Linked DNA regions of Homo sapiens: region 2 is linked to region 1. The links are contacts of gene promoters, found by promoter capture Hi-C in human tissues and cell types (Jung and others, 2019). All regions are on one chromosome and are shown on one strand. Each heading gives the region's core, a stretch centred on a gene start or on the middle of the fragment in contact. The rest is flanking DNA. Distances are from core to core; before and after follow the strand shown.

Region 1 (5,324 bases), core at 885-3,384:
GGGTTTACATCTGAGCTTTGATGTTTACTGGCTTTGTGACATTGAGCAAAGTATCTAACTGAGTCTTGACTTCCCAGCTGAAAGTAGGAATAATAATACTCCCCCTCTCAGACATTTGGGAGGATTTGATGAAATGGCCATTCCATTACACTTGCCTGTTTTATTGTTTCCATGGTTCTGATCAACTCTGAACTGCTGGATTTATTGTTCTCTTCTTCCTCCTCTTCCTCTTCTTTTCTTCTTTTTTGAGACAGGGTCTTACTCTGTTGCCCAGGCTGGAGTGCAGTGGCATAATCTTAGCTGAATCACTGCAACTTCTGCCTTCTGGGCTCAAACGATCTTCCTGCTTCAGCCTCCTGAGTAGCTGGGACTATGGGTGTGCACCACCACGCCTGGCTAATTTTTGTATTTTTTGTAGTGACGGGGTTTTGTCATGTTGCCCAAGGGGGTCTCGAGCTTCTGGGCTCAAGAGATCTGCCAGCCTTGGCCTCCCAAAGTGTTGGGATTACCCACGTGAGCCACTGTGCCCGGCCATAATATTCCATCTTATGGATATATCATATTTTAGTTAACCAGCCCCATATTGTTGGACATCTAGATTGATAAGTTTTTCCTTTTGTAAACAATATTGAGCTACACAACCCTGTATATCCATCCTTGACTACGAGTCTGATTATTTCCTTCAGACAACTTCCTCAAAGTTGAATTGCTGGATCAAAGGGTATGCACCTTAATGTTCTCCTGTTATTGTTATTGTTATTATTATTATTATTATTATTATTGAGATGGAGTCTTGCTCTGTTGCCCAGGCTGGAGTGCAGTGGCATGATCTCGGCTCACTGCAACCTCCGCCTCCTGGGTTCCAGCTATTCTCCTGCCTCAGCCTCCTGAGTATCTGGGACTACAGGCATGTGCAACCATTCCTGGCTAATTTGTGTATTTTTTTTAGCAGAGACAGGGTTTCATCATGTTGACCAGGCTGGTCTCGAACTCCTGACCTCAGGTGATCTGCCCACCTTGGCCTCCCAAAGTGCTGGGATTACAGGTGTAAGCCACTGTGCCCGGCCTGTTTTATTATTTTTTAAGTGATAAAAATATACAAGTAATAGAGAACAATCTCATCTCAGTAGTTCCAGACCAGCCCCACACTCCCATGGCAACTCACCTTAAACATCTGGTGTGTATTTGTTCATGCATTGTTCTTTATACATATAGTTTTCCTTTCTTGTTTTTATAAAATGGCACTGGTGGGCATATATATATTTTTGGTGGGGAGGGAGGGATGGGGTCTCCCTCTGTCGCCCGGGCTGGAGTGCAGTGGCAAGATAATAGCTCACTGCAGCCTCCACCTCCTGAGTTCAAGAGATCCTCTTGCCTCAGCCTCCCGAGTAGCAGGACTACAGACGCTTGCCACCCTGCCCCGCTAATTTTTATTTTTTGTAGAGATGGGGTCTCCCTATGTTGCCCAGGCTGGCCTCAAACTTCTGGGCTCAAGCAGTCCTTCTGCCTTGACCTCCGTGCTGGGATTACAGGTGTGAGCCACCGCACCCGGCCTAGTGAGCATATTTTTAAGGTGTATGTCAATTAGTGTGGAACACTGATGGAACGAACATAGCAATAATTAGAATTGCCACTCATGGAGCACATATTAAGTGTCGGGCATTGAGCACCAAGCATTGTGGACAGACGCTTTATTTTCACCAGGTTTTGAGTGCTTACTGGGTACTAGACTTTTCAGTCAATATTAATCATCTACTATGTGATTCTACCAAGTGCTTATGAACAAGTGTGCAGCGCCTATTCTGCGCCAGCCTTTTGCTTGCATCTCATTTAAACGTGAAAACAAGGAGTGATCTCTATGCTCTGCCCAGGGTGGGGGCGCGGGCCCGAGCAAGGGGTGCACACCTGAGTAGGGACAGGACGGGGGAAGCGGCGTCCTCTTCCCTGGCGCGCTGCAAAGCCAGGGCTACCCTGAATGGCCAGGGGGAGAAGGGGCCGGCGGAGGTCAGGCCGAGGGCAGGCGGCAGCGAAGGGCTAGGCGGACGTCCAGGCCACCCGGGTGGCCTCGTCCGCGGAGCGGTGGGCGGAGCGGCGGGCGGGGCCTGTATTGTCCGCTCCGCGAGGCATGCCGGGAGCCCCGCCCCCAACATGGCGTCTCACTGACAGTTGGTTGCCGAGCGGCAGAGGCGGATCCTGCTCCTGAGGGCGGCGGCGGCGGCGGCGGCGGCGGCGGCGGCAGGGCCGGGGTCTCCCGGGCCGGGGTCGGGGGTATGGCGACTCGGACCGCCTAGGGCGGAGTTGCACGGGCGAGGCAGCAAGTGGGGCGCCGCTGGCGGGCGCGGCGGCCGCTGCCATGGACTGGTGATCGCGGCGGCTCCTGCTCCGTTTCCCCCGGCCGGGCGTCTGCTCCTCAGCGCCAAGCCTTCAGCCGGGGCCATGGGCTCGTCGGCGGCCGCGGCGGCGGCGGCGGCGGCGGCCGCTGACTCGGCGCAGTGGCTCTCGGTGAAGGAAGAGACCATCTTCCTGCACGACGGGCTGATCCGGGTCACCGACCTGGCCGAGCTGCCCAGCGAGATCCTCGGGGCCCCAGAGGCCGCGGACACCGACCTGGAGGTGAGCGAGGCGGCCCCCGGCCCCCGCCATCGGACTGACCCACTCGCCCGGCACCCCCGGGTCGGGCCCCCTCCTCGCCTCAGCCGCGGCCTCGCCTCCCGGCGGCTGCCGGGGCAGGTGTGTGTGGGCGCGGGGCGGGCAGGTGGGGCCGCGGCCGCAGGTCTGCGGACCGCCCGCCCCGCTCTCCCTCCCTCCCTCCTCGGGGCCTGGCGCCCGCAGGGGATTTCATTTGTGGTTTTCTTTTGAGCGTTCCGACACCCGGCATTTTATTAGGCTAGCGCCTGGCTCGGCCTTCATGCCCCAGAGGAGCCACCGCCACCACCCGGGCCCTCCCTCCCCTCCCCCACGGGCCCCCAGGACCCACTTCCAGGGCACACCCAGGTTGCTTAGCTTTGGGAACATTTTGATTTTCACGCTGTGTACCCTCCCATCCTTTTCTTCCCTAGTTCTGTTTTTTTTGTTTGGTTTGGTTTGGTTTTTTTCCGGGAGAGGGTAGTGGCAGCTGCGGGTCCGCGATGGGCAATCCAGCAACTTCTCTGTGTTGTGTCTCGGATGGATTGACACGGGGCCTTTGTCAGGGAAGCGGGCGCTGTGGACAGCGAGAGGGATGCTCCAGCGGCCCTCCATGCACTCTCGGGGAAGGGTCACTGGCGCGTTAGGCCGCAGGGCCTTTTTGTGTGCCCCGGGGGTCGCCAAGCATCCCGGGTTCAGAGCCGTGGCAGGTGCAACAGCAGATCTCATCAGTTGAGCTGCTTGGCCTTGGGGGCAGAAGGGAACCAAATATGCCTGGTTGGTGGGAACTTTCCATCGACTTCACTTGGGTTCGTGTTTGCCTAGAGGTGGGAATACTGGCAGTGTCGTTTCATGGAGGCCAACGGATGCTGACACTGCTCCCCTTCCACTTTGTGGGATGACATTTTGATGTGTAGGTAGCATGGGGTGTCATCAAATTTTTACTGCCGTAAGGAGAGCTTTCTGGGGTAGGGCGCAGAGAGGATGGCCTATCTTCTGGCTATAAACGGCATGCGAGGGATCTTTTGTGTTTTGCGGTTTTGCGTGCAGTTTGGCTTTACGCACAACGAACATTTATAGAAATGAATTAAAAGCCATTACTGTGTGTTTCTGGAAACGGCAGTGATCGGATCACATTGGCCGAGACATTTGGACGTGCTTGAGATGCGAATACGTTCCACTGTATTTTTGTGTCTGGATTTGCGGTTGCTTCAGCACTTCCGTTATGAACTCTTAATTGACTTATTTTACAATCTAGTCACCAAAAAGAGGAGGATATGGTTGGTAGGGAATTCCTAACATGGAATCATCGTTTTATTGTGTCTCATTTGGGCCTGTTCTATAACAAGCAAGGTGTGTCTGAGTGTCTTATCTGCCTGAAAACTCAAGGGGTATTATGCTATGATAGTGGAATCTTTTGATTTAATTGGCTGTGTTGTGTGTGAAAGGTGGAAAGTGGATGCTCTTTGTTTCTTTCTTTTCTTTTTTTTCCCCCGAGACCGAGTCTTGCTCTGTCGCCCAGGCTGGAGTGCAGTGGCGCGATCTCAGCCCACTGCAGCCTCTGCCTCCCGGATTCAAACGATTCTCCTGCCTCTGCCTCCCGAGTTGCTGGGATTACAGGCACGCGCCACCATGCCTGGCTAATTTTTGTATTTTTAGTAGAGACAGGGTTTCACCATGTTGGCCAGGCTGGTCTCGAACTCCTGACCTCAAGTGATCTGCCTGCCTTGGCTTCCCAAAGTGCTGAGATTACAGGCGTGAGCCACTATGCCGTGCCTATGCTCTTTGTTTCTTAAAGACTAATCCAAGTTCACAGAACCAAAATTTATACATATATGTCATTTATGTAGTTTATTTTTAGGATTAGAAAGAGTAGGATTAGTTAAAATATCTGTGATGTTGGTTTTCCTAAAATGTTTATAAATGTATTGCGTGAATTTGTCAGCTATTTCCACAGAAGAATGGTTTTCAAAGGAAAGAACCTCTCTGGCCTGCTAGATTTTTTTTTTTAATTGCTTTTTAAATTTATGGTCTGATTTCTCAGCAACTAGTATGTGTATGGGTGATAAACATTTATGACTGGTAGTAGTGAATAACTTGTTTCATTCTTTCCATGTTATACAGGCTCCATGGTATCAGGAGAAATAGATAGCTAAGAATGTTTTTGTGGCTATTAGATTTGTGTTTGTGTGGGTGTATTCACATATATATATATATATATAAAAAATCTTTTTATTTTTTATTTTGAGACAGGGTCTCTCTCTGTTGCCCAGGCTAGAGTGCAGTGGCTCCATCTCAGCTCACTGCAACCTCCACCTCCCGGGTTGAGGCAATTTTCCTGCCTCAGCCTCCCAAGTAGCTGGGATTACAGGCATACACCACCATGCCGGGCTAATTTTTGTATTTTTAGTAGAGACAAGGTTTTGCCATGTTGGCCAGGCAAGTCTCGAACTCCTGACCTCAGGTGATCCGCCTGCCTTGGCCTCCCAAAGTGCTGGGATTACAGGCATGAGCCACCATGCCCAGCACATATTTAATTACTTAATAATATTGATTAAATGTATCCTACATGTCAGGCATTATTTTATTAAATTCTCAAAAGAGCCTAACAATTGGAAATATTGCACTCATTGTACAGATGAAGGAAGTGCAGAGTAGGTATTCGACTTGTTCAAGAGCACATGAAGAGCTTGCACGTT
Region 2 (4,955 bases), core at 209-2,708, 460 kb after region 1:
AATCTTGCTCTGTCACCCAAGCTGGATTGCAGTGGTGTGATCTTGGCTTACTGCAACCTCCACCTCCCAGGTTCAAGCAATTCTCCTGCCTCAGCCTCCCAAGTAGCTGGGATTATAGGCATGCATCACCACGCCCAGCTAATTTTTCTGTTTTTAGTAGAGACAGGGTTTCACCATTTGGCCAGGCTGGTCTCAAACTCCTGATCTCAAATGATCCACCCTCCTCAGCCTCCCAAAGTTCTGGGATTACAGGTGTGAGCCACCATCCCCGGCCATCCACTCTTAATAAATAAAAAATACTTTGATCCTAAGGCTATTTTTTTCTGCCAAGGATTCAGCTTCCCAAGTAGCCACATGCTGGGCTAGTTTTTTGTTTGTTTGTTTGTTTGTTTGTTTGTTTTGGTAGAGATAGGACCTCAGTATTTAGCCTAGGCTGGTCTCGAACTCCTGGGCTCCAGCAGTCCTCCTGCCTTGGCCTCTCAAAGTGCTGGGATTACAGGTGTGAGCCACCATGTTCAGCCCTGCCAAAGATTTTGAGAGCCCATTTTGGAACTCAAAACCAAAAATTTGACTCTTTATTCTTATTATTTGATTCCTTTCTTCCTGGGACAATAAACTTCAGCCTCACTGTCTCTATTTAGTTAGAAGAGCTTTCAGTAAGAAGAAATTACTGAGAAGAAAATTATTAATAAGAGGAGAAAATACATTGTCATCCAATTCAGAATGCTATTCTGAAAATTATATAATATTTATTATACTTTCTATTGCTTCCCTTTTTTTCCCTGTCTTTCACTGGCTTGGATAGATTTCCTTTATTCCTTTTCTTATTCCTATGTTACTTTGTAAAGTTTTACTTTGCTTGTCAATACTCAGTTACTCTAGTGGTTACTTTCCTGTTGCTAATAATCATGAATAAACCTCTATCATTATGTCAATATAAATAGTAAGTTATAGCAGTTAAGTGCTCCATCAAAATAATTTACTTGTGGCCAGGCACAGTGGCTCATGCCTGTAATTCCAGCACTTTGGGAGGCCCAGGCAGGCAGATCACTTGAGATCAGGAGTTCGAGACCAGCCTGGCCAACATGGTGAAACCCCATCTCTACTAAAAGTACAAAAATTAGCTGGGCCTGGTGGCATGCGCCTGTAGTCCCAGCTACTTGGGAGGCTGAGGAACAAGAATCACTTTAACCTGGAAGGTGGAGGTTGTAGTGAGCTGAGATGACACCACTGTACTCCAGCCTGGGTGACAGAGCAATACTCCATCTCAAAAAAAAAAAAAATTTATTTGCCATTCCTCTTACCTTTTTCTACCATGAAAATATAATTAAAAGGTTGAGCACAAATATTCCAGGCAAAAACAAATAAGAAGAAAGCAGGGATTGCAATGTTCAAAACAAAGTAAAATTCAAGATTAAAATCATTAATTTTACAGGCAGTGGCTCACACCTCTAATCCCAGCACTTTGGGAGGCTGAGGTGGGCGGATCACGAGTTCAGGAGATCAAGACCATCCTGGCTAACATGGTGAAACCCCGCCTCTACTAAAAATACAAAAAATTAGCTGGGCGTGGTGGCAGGCACCTGGAGTCCCAGCTACTCAGGAGGCTGAGGCAGGAGAATGGCATGAACCCAGGAGGCAGACAGAGGTTGCAGCGAGCTGAGATCGCGCCATTGCACTCCAGCCTGGGCGACAGAGCGAGACTCCATCTCAAAAAATAATAAAATAAAATGAAATGAAATAAAATAAAATCATTAAAGGGGAAAAGAGGATATGTAGTTATTAAGAGGTACACCCAAAAAAGAAAATTTAAGTCATAAATTCTTGTTTTCTTCTTCTTCTTTTTTTTTTTTTTTTTTTTTTTTTTTTTTTTTGAAGTGGAGTCTTGCTCTGTCGCCCAGGCTGGAGTGCAGTGGTGCGATCTTGGCTCACTGCAACTTCTGCCTCCCTGGTTCAAGTGATTCTCCTTCAGCCTCCCGATCTTGGCTCACTGCAACCTCTGCCTCCCTGGTTCAAGTGATTCTCCTTCAGCCTCCCAAGTAGCTGGGACTACAGGCACGTGCCACCATGCCCAGCTAATTTTTTGTATTTTTAGTAGAGATGGGGTTTCACTGTGTTAGCCAGGATGTTCTCAATCTCCTGATCTCATGATCCGCCCGCCTCAGCCTCCCAAAGTGCTGGGATTACAGGCGTGAGCCACTGGGCCCAGCCTAAATTCTTGTTTTAAAACAATATGGCAATCAAGAATGAAATAATATATCACTACAGACCTAACAGATGCCAAAAGAATAATGAGGAACCACTACAAACAGCTTTACAGACGTACATTTGATACCTTAGATAAATGGACCAATTTCTCAAAAAGCACAAACTACTACATCTCACCCAATGTGAACTAGATAAGTTGAATATCTTTATAGCTATTAAGAAAATTGAATTTCGCCAGGCACGGTAGCTCATGCCTGTGATCCCAGCACTTTGGGAGGCTGAGGCGGGCGGATCACCTGAGGTTGGGAGTTTGAGACCAGCCTGACCAACATGGAGAAACCCTGTCTCTACTAAAAATACAAAATTAGCCAGGCATGGTGGCACGTGCCTGTAATCCCAGCTACTTGGGAGGCTGAGGCAGGAGAATCGCTTGAACCCAGGAGGTGGAGGTTGCGGTGAGCCGACATCATGCCATTGCACTCCAGCCTGGGAAAACTCCATCTCAAAAAAAAAAGAAAGAAAAAAGAAAATTGAATTTATAACTTCACATCTCCCAAGAAAAATAATCAGGCCCAGATGGTTTCACTGGAGAATTATAACAAACCTTTAAAAATAAATTAACACTAATTCTACACAATCTCTTCTAGAAAAATAAAAGAGAAGGAAAGGGAACCCTATCCGATTCATTTTATGAGGCCAGCATCACCCTGATACCAAAACCAGAGAAAGACAGTACAAAAAAAGAAAACTACAGACCAATATCCTTCATGAATATAGATGCAAAAAAAATTTAACCAAATATTAGCAAATAAAATTCAGCAATGTGAAAAAAAGAATTATACACCATGACCAAGTTTTGTTTTTTCCAGGGATGCAGGATTGGTTTATGTTTGAAAATCAAACATTGAATTCACCATGTTAGCAGGCTAAATAAGAAAAATCCCATGATCATATCAATTGGTGCAGAAAAAAGCATTTGGCTAAGCTTTACATCCATTCATGATAAAAACTCCCAGAAAACTAGGTAGAGAGTGAAAACTACCTCAATGTAATAAGAACATCTACAAAAAGCCTATAGTTAATGTTTTACTTAATGGTGAAAGACTGAATCTTCCCCCTTGCAGGATACAGTAGCAACATATAAAAATCAATTATATTTCTGTATACTAGCAATGAACAATTTAATCAAAATAAAAATACAATTTAAAATCACTCAAAAAATGAAATATTTAGATGTAAATTTAACAAAATATGTACAGGACCTATTAAATGAAAACCACAAGACACTGATGAAAGAAATCAAAGATGTAAATAAATAGAGATTTGCTATGTTTACAAATTGGAAGACACAACGTAATAAAGATACCAGTTCTCCTCAAACTGATACATAGACTTAACCCAATTCATATCACAATCCGAACAAGATTCTTTGTAGATACAGACAAGAAAATTTTAAAATTTATATTTTACAATATAAATTTTCTAAAAGACAAAGGAACAAGACTAGCTAAAACAATTTTGGAAAATAATAACTTGGAGAAATCACTCTTTTCTGTTTCAATAGTATGCGGTATTGCTGATGAGATACACACATAGATCAATGGAACACAGGAAACCCTTAAATAGAGTTTTTGCACTTTTTAAATTTAGCATAATCTTTTTTTTTTTTTTTGAGACGGAGTCTCGCTCTGTCACCCAGGCTGGAGTGCAGTGGCGCTATCTCAGCTCACTGCAAGCCCCGCCTCCCGAGTTCACACCATTCTCCTGCCTCAGCCTCAGGAGTAGCTGGGACTACAGGCGCCTGCCACCACACCCAGCTAATTTTTTGTATTTTTAGTAGAGACGGGGTTTCGTCATGTTAGCCAGGATGGTCTCGATCTCCTGACCTCATGGTCTGCCCACCTCAGCCTCCCAAAGTGCTGGGATTACAGGCATGAGCCACCGTGCCTGGCCAATTTAGCATGATATTCTTAAAGTTCATCCACATTGTAGCAGGTGTTAGTATTTCATTCCTTTTTTTTTTTTTTTTTAAGAGTTAGGGTTGGCCGGGCGTGGTGGCTCACGCCTGTAATTCTACCACTTTGGGAGGCCAAGGCAGGCAGATCACAAGGTCAGGAGATCGAGACCATCCTGGCTAACACGGTGAAACCCCATCTCTACTAAAAATACAAAAACAAAATTAGCCAGACGTGGTGGCGGGCACCTGTAGTCCCAGCTACCAGGGAGGCTGAGGCAGGAGAATGTTGTGAACCCGGGAGGCGGAGCTTGCAGTGAGCTGAGATCATACCACTGCACTCCAGCCTGGGTGACAGAGCAAGACTGTCTCAAAAAAAAAAAAAAAAATTGTTGGGGTTTCACTCTGTCGCCCAGGCTGGAGTGCAGTGGTGCAGTCATGGCTCACTGCAGCCTCAAACTCCTGGGCTCAAGAGATTCTCCTGGTCGGGCACAGTGGCTCATGCCTGTAATCCCAGCACTTTGGGAGGCCAAGGCAGGTGGATCACTTGACCTCAGGAGTTCCAGACCAGCCTGGCCAACATGGTGAAACCCCGTCTCTACTAAAAATACAAAAATTAGCTGGGCGTGGTGGTGCACATCTGTAATCCCAGCTATTTGGGAGGCTGAGGCAGGAGAATCCCTTGAACCTGGGAGGCAGAGGTTGCAATGAGCTGAGATCTTGTCATTGCACTCCATCCAGCCTAGGCGACAGAGCAAGACTCCATCTCAAAAAAAAAAAAAAAAAATGGAGA

What was found. Contacts are between HindIII fragments. The study calls those that stand out against the background at their distance.
Region 2: a contact is called between a fragment that was not itself captured here and the fragment with the promoter of HECTD4 in region 1, in 1 of the 25 tissues and cell types used here (spleen).

What each region holds. Positions count from the first base shown.
Region 1 is chr12:112,379,241-112,384,564 of GRCh38, reverse strand. HECTD4 (HECT domain E3 ubiquitin protein ligase 4) reads left to right here and starts at 2,134. Exons shown (of 76, transcript NM_001388303.1): 1 at 2,134-2,613. The coding sequence starts at 2,437. RefSeq lists silencers at 1,814-2,103, 2,214-2,483, 2,494-2,983 and enhancers at 1,991-2,490, 3,676-4,176. The HindIII fragment of the contact is 28,101 bases long and covers 1-5,324 here.
Region 2 is chr12:111,914,226-111,919,180 of GRCh38, reverse strand. No RefSeq gene overlaps it. Among named protein-coding and RNA genes, the nearest start is that of MAPKAPK5-AS1, 74 kb to the right of the region's middle. The HindIII fragment of the contact is 8,585 bases long and covers 1-4,955 here.